2 separate regions of the Homo sapiens genome follow, and region 2 is linked to region 1. The links are contacts of gene promoters, found by promoter capture Hi-C in blood cells and fetal thymus (Javierre and others, 2016). All regions are on one chromosome and are shown on one strand. Each heading gives the region's core, a stretch centred on a gene start or on the middle of the fragment in contact. The rest is flanking DNA. Distances are from core to core; before and after follow the strand shown.

The links. Contacts are between HindIII fragments. The CHiCAGO score rates a contact against its expected background, and 5 or more counts as called.
Region 2: a contact is called between a fragment that was not itself captured here and the fragment with the promoter of LINC02868 in region 1, in 1 of 17 cell types (M2 macrophages). The highest score is 5.1, in M2 macrophages.

Annotation. Positions count from the first base shown.
Region 1 is chr1:116,692,474-116,695,723 of GRCh38, forward strand. It overlaps LINC02868 (long intergenic non-protein coding RNA 2868), which reads left to right and starts at 1,639. Exons shown (of 4, transcript NR_149353.1): 1 at 1,639-1,724; 2 at 2,286-2,382. The HindIII fragment of the contact is 15,118 bases long and covers 1-2,283 here.
Region 2 is chr1:116,574,394-116,577,333 of GRCh38, forward strand. It overlaps IGSF3 (immunoglobulin superfamily member 3), which reads right to left. Exons shown (of 11, transcript NM_001007237.3): 11 at 15-2,940. The coding sequence ends at 2,919. It overlaps LOC124904385 (a long non-coding RNA gene), which reads left to right. Exons shown (of 2, transcript XR_007066497.1): 2 at 1-357. Among named protein-coding and RNA genes, the nearest start is that of CD58, 4.8 kb to the left of the region's middle. The HindIII fragment of the contact is 4,636 bases long and covers 1-2,940 here.

The sequences.
Region 1 (3,250 bases), core at 389-2,888:
AGTTTTCAATGAAGTTTGTTGGGTGTATGAATGAAGTAAAGAAAAAACTAATTCATTAATTCATGTTTACCTACAGTATATCTGGTGGATAAAAGCCGTGGCTCTATTCTACAGGCCAGTGGCAGCCACCAGGACTAAGGGACAGTGTATGCCATAGTCTCTATCGTTCAAATGCCTTTGGCTGTAAGTAACAAAAGATGCAACTCACAATGGCTTAATAATAGGAAAATTTATTATGCTCCATAACAAGAAATCCAGAGGTATGCAAGCTCCAGAGATGGTTAATTTAGTTCTTCAGTAATGTCATAGAAGACCCAGTTTCTTCCAGCTCGCACCCTAGCTATCTTCATCGGGTTGCACTTTTCCTCACGGTAACTCTCCTCAGAGTGAGAAGTGAGGCACAGCTGTACTAAGCAGATCTAATCCAGATAATATGACAGTGCCTGCTTCTCTTTTTACAAAGGGGAAAACCTCTTTTAGAACCCCCGGCCCTACCTAGTAGACTTCTGCTCATGGTTTTGGTCAGAACTAAGTCATGGGTCCTTTTGAAAAATCAGTTATTAGCACAGGGAAAGAGGGAATACTATGAACAGCTTAGGGCAAACACGTGGTCATGAATAGGACATGTTGCCAAGCAGACTGAAGTTATGTTAGGAAGGGAGAAGCGCAGGGATACAGTTATATTGGATAAGCAGCCACACAGCTTGCTGCTGTGTGCATTTATTCATTTATTCATTCAACAGATATTATCTATCATATACCCAGCATTGTGCTGGAGGTTGTGGACAGTAGTGAACATGAGAGACAAGATCCCTCCCCTGCCAGACCTTCCCCTCACCCCCTGCCCTTTGAGATGGAGAGGGTGTCCAGGCCTCCCCCCTTCACCCTCTGAGGTGGGGAGGCGTCCAGGGCCTCGCATCTCAGCATGGGACTGATAGGCTTGCCCTGACCTCTCGCAGGCATGAACACTGCTGTCTGGGCCGTGGCACACATGGGCATTTGTGTGGGCACCAAAGTCTTCCTCATCTGCGAGGTAAGGCTGAGGTGAGCTCTGTGTATGTGGGGAGCAGGAGCCTCCTGGGGTGCAGGCTGGGGTCTGGTCTGTGTGGGTCACCCTGGGAGCCTTCAGATGACCCTGGTGGAGCTAAGGTTCCAGACGTTCCCGTAGGGAAAGAGACGGTGGCCATGTAAACAAATAAACAAGATCCTTGTAGAGTGCCGTAACTATCATAAGGAAATCAGCAGAGCAGTGGACAGAGTGTGAACAGGGCCTGCACTGGAGGCGGACATGGAAGGTCCTCTGAGAAGGTAACATTTGATGAAGTAGGGAGCAACAAGTCCAGTGCAGATCAAGAGAGAGGACTCCAAGCAGAGCCAACAGCAAGTGCAAAGGCCCTGAGGCAGGAATGAGGTGGCTGTGTGGCTGAAGCAAAGTCTGTGCCTAATGACTAATCAAAAGTTGCTTCTGGCACCCAGCCTGGCTCCTGCCCCAAGCTGAAAACAGATCACCAGCAACAACTCTAGCTTCCCAAGCCTCTCCTGCCTAGACATGCAGCTCCACCCAGGTCAGAGGTACAGCTGCAGGGACCACAAAACAATGGGCTTAGCTCTGTGAAGACAGGAAAAGCCACCATGGTTTTGACAAAGAACCCAGGAATGGCGTTAAAGACTTCTTTGGGCAGTGTCCAATTTATGGAGCAATTTTGTTGGCCACATCTACGGAGGTATAAAAAAGACAGACATAAGGCAAGGATGGAACTACTTTGTTTATGTGTGTTGATATCCCTTCCCCATGCTCCTGTACGCCTCATAGCTCCTGCAGCGTGGTGGGTGATCCCAGTGGCTCCTATTTCACCTGGAGGCAGGACAGTGCTGCTGCCATGTGTGGCAGCTCTGCCAGGGGCTGAGGAGGCAGAGACTGTAATTCTCAGTTTGGTGTAATAATCCCTACCACTTTTCTGCGGCTGAGTTTCTGGGTGGGCATAAGTTCACTGGCAGCCTGGGTCCCCAATCTTATTCCCCTCCAGGCCTGGTAGCTCTTCTTTCTTGCAGTGAAAACCTCTCCGAGGGTTTTAATGATCCTGTCCAGTTCTGGCCTGCCACACCCATCACAGCCTGGTCAGTCCAGAGAGCGCTGAGTCCTCCTGCTTCCTCTGTCAGCAGTGACATCAGGCATCCTCCCTAGGCTTCCTCTGGAAACTCATCCCTTTTTGTCCCTCTTCCAGGTAGCCTTTTCCCCAGAATGTTGTTACTGGATTCATTTGATATTTTGTTTTCCTTTGAAGCTTTTGTGAAACTTGCGTAGGCTCATGGAGTATCCAAATGAGGCAACATCACCATCAGTCCTCCTTCCCTGGCTCACTGCCTCAGGAAACCAACCTGGTAGGTATTTCTGAGACTCCCAGTTTCTATGGAAGTCCCTGGGGATTTCTCACTCAAATCTGCAAAGTGCTTAGTCTTCCTGGACTTTTGGCTCTAGGCAGTTTGCTTGGAAGTATTGAAGGAGAGTAGCTCCCTGACCCCCATGTGATAATATTACAGGGCCTCAGAGCAGGGTTGTTTGGCATTCTAGGGGCTGGGAGATTGGTGAGACACCCCAGATGTCTGCTTGACTTCAGGGTGGCTGATTAGGGTGGGCTGATTACAGTAGAGTCCACCACCCTACACTCGGAACCGCAGCTTCCTCTGAATTGCAACTGTGCTGCTGCCTGGGACAGATTCCTTTCTTTTTAAGGTTGAAATTTCTCTTAAGGAGTCCATATTTGGGTTTTGTCCCTAACCACCCCACCTCCCCAATTCCCTGTCCTAAGTTCTGCAGGCACCAGGGACCGCCATTGTGAACACAGGGGGGTTCTTTCCTGGAGCTCCAGAATCCAGGTAGACATCTGGGAAGTGATGGGAAAAGAGGTCATTCCATCATTTGGACAAATCTAAATCTAAATTTAGCCCCAGCCTGCTATAGAATATCAGCATGAAAGAAACTTTGGAGGCTATTAGGTCAACTGCTTCATTTTGCAGATGAGAAAACAGAGGCCCAGAGAGGTGAAGTGGTTGGACCAAGAACATGCACCTCATGGCAGAGCTAGACTGACCCTGTTTCCTGACTTTCAGTCTGGGTCTCCATTCAATGTGCCTTCTGCCCTTGTCCCTTTTGAATTTTATAAAAGGTCCTTTACATTCAAGAGCCTCTTCTTTCTGTTCCCCTGCCCACCCTCTACCTTGTAGAACTTCTGATAAGACACCTAGGCCA
Region 2 (2,940 bases), core at 311-2,810, 120 kb before region 1:
AATGTAAACAGCCGTATTTTCAACATAATTTACTACAGGTCTCTGAAGTGTATATAAAATGTTTTAGTGCAACATCTTACAAATAGTTTTCCTTTAAAAAAACAGAAACAAATCAACAGCTCTCTACATCATGCATGGGTAGTTTTCTTACCCCATCTTTTTTTTTCCTCAATAATTAACGCAGAGAAACCATTGTTTGAAAAGAATATGAAAACTTGCTACAGAAACACCCGGTGAAAGAGGGTGTGGTCATATTCATGTCCTAGAATGCGCCTAGCACAGTGTAGTTTTTCATAAATGCAACATTGTAGACATAGATGAATCCAGAGTATTCAGCAGTTTTCCTCCGTCTCAGAAGACTAAAGCTCCAGTAGACAATGCGCAATGAGGTCTCACAGCCACTGGAGGGCACCATTACCATCCATCTGACATCGCATTTCCATAGAAATGGCCAAAGAAAGAAGGTCCTGGGGTTTTTCATAGAAAGCTCAAAAAGTTCAACCTTTGATGCTATCCCCCAGCCCAATACAAAATACACAGAAAAAGCAATTATTAAAATACTGGCTTCGGTTTCTTTTTTTCCTTTCAAATTTCCTACAATTGCTTTACATATTTGTGTGCAGCACCTACTTCTTTATCGCCGTGAACTGAAATCTAAGATTTCAAACTGAAATCTTAGTTACACATCCTAGTCCCAGCCAGCGCTCTGGCAACCTCCCATTTAGACAGAGGAAACGCCAGTCATCTTCCCTCATTGACTCAGCCTATAAAGTAGGAGTCAGCAAATTCCCACTGAAAGCCCACATCTCTGAAATAAAGAAATGGGGCAAAAGACCTTCTTTTTTCATGACTGAGCCGCTCCTGTACCTCTAATGTGTTGATGCAGCATAATAAATGAGAATCAGCATGTCAGGCAACAGCAGGATTAAGGTGGTGGTGCCTGCACACACTGTCTCACAGGAGGGTACGGTATACTTGGGGGAGAAAAGGCAGGTCTGTGTGTCTGTCAGAAAATGGCTGAGCAATCGCCACCATGCTCCCCTCAGCTGGGAATCAGCAAAGTATCTGCCGAGCAGCCCAGGCCACCTGCATACCTGCAGACCCTTGAAGGATCAGCACAGACACTGGCCTGGGGAATCCCATGGCCTCCCCTGCAGTCTGCTCGTTCTCAGAACAGGGCTTCACTGGAATCTTTTATCAGACTTAGTTCCAGAATCCCTGATGACTTTTTCCAAACTGTGACCCCCTCTTGGGATTCAGGATGTAAGTTCCCAGAGTAAAGGAGATGGCATGCTTGGCCAGAAAAATATGGGAAAGCAAGGGTATAAGAACATCTTCATAAAGGGAGCAAAAGGAAATATTTGCAATTGATGATGCCCTAAGAAGGACAAGCAGCACCTGGCCCAACAGTGTAAAAGAACAGGGTGACACCAGCCATCATGGGGCTCAAGGGGCGTTAAAATAAAAAGCCACCATAACAATGAACAACCAAACAACCTAGAACCACAAGAGAGATCAAGAAAGGGAAAGGAAAAATCCCACAGACAATGCCTTGTGATCACAGTCTGCTGAGACTAGGCAAACAGAAAGGATGACAAAGGGCTGCGTCTGGACTGCCCCCAGGCTGATATTCTTATGGCAGTGAGAGGCAGGGAGAGAAAAATGAATAAGGAAGACATCACTATAATTAAGGAAAATCTAATTGGAAGGAAGAAGAAAAACCTAGTCTTCACACCTCCAGGGAGGTAGATATTTCTCTGCACTCTCCAACACCAGGCCCTGGAAACCCCCCTCCCACCCCTCACTGTCCCACCAAACTTAGTGTCAGCCAGCCCCGTGCCCTCCGTCAGGTGTCTGCCATGGCTGCTTTGGCCCTGTGCTCAGCTCAGGGGCCCACTTCCAAGTTCACTGGACACTTTCTTTTAAGAGTTTGGCAAAGCACCTGAAGACACAGGCCCACCTGCTCACAGTTAATCAGTTAGAGACCATCCTTGCAGCTCAGAGCAAGCCAACAGCCAGCCTTTCTCCCTTCCTTCTCTAGTCACTGGCTTTGACAAATCTGCAGGTCAGCAGCTGCTAAAAGCAGCCCCTGCCCACTTTAATTTGGAAAGTGTGTGCCGTTTGGGGCTTCTGACCCATTCTCCAAGACAGTTTTCTTATTTTTTGGCAAGGATGGGATGAAGCCTTTTTTGCCTCCCTGACAGATAGGCCGGGCACCATCTACTCCTAATGGGGTTATGCAGGATTTCTCTTGTACATACACAGTTCTTTGAAGCAAAATTCAGTGCTTTCGTCTTGACTACAAAGTGGTTCCAATAACTCCAGCTGAGGGAAAAGACAACATACAAATTTTGCCCACACTACACACAATTCTTAAGTCTTGTTAAGAAAGTAAAAAACGTTTGGGTATATTTTGATCCATGGGTGGCATTTTCAAATGTGCAAAAACAAAGTCTTGGAAGAGATTCCTTGTCACTAGAAAGTTCGCCCTTCCTTTTGCTGTCAGTTGTACGTAAGAGAAATTCGTCCACATTAAGGAATCCAAAAAGGGTAAACTAAAGGGATTTAAAAAGAGTACATTACAAAGAATAAGAAGCCCTGTAACATCTATCTGAGAATACTAGATAAATCTGTGAGTAGATGTGGCACCTGGAGCTACTCACTACATTACTAAAAACAGAAACAAGAAATCTATAATGGCAGGATCACAACATTTGCGCGCAAATAGCTAACCAACCAAGACTGCCACCGAGAGGCAGTCTGTCTCTGTGACTGACTGGGAACTTGGAACACTTTTCAAGTCTGACAACTTTCCACACACATGCACCCCAGAGTTTGGGTGCTGTCAACTGTCCAATCACAGAGAAAGGGAGAGCCTCAGCTCCTCCGTGGCCAACATCCGCTGGGGCATCACCCGCTTAGTCTATGGCCCCTGGATGG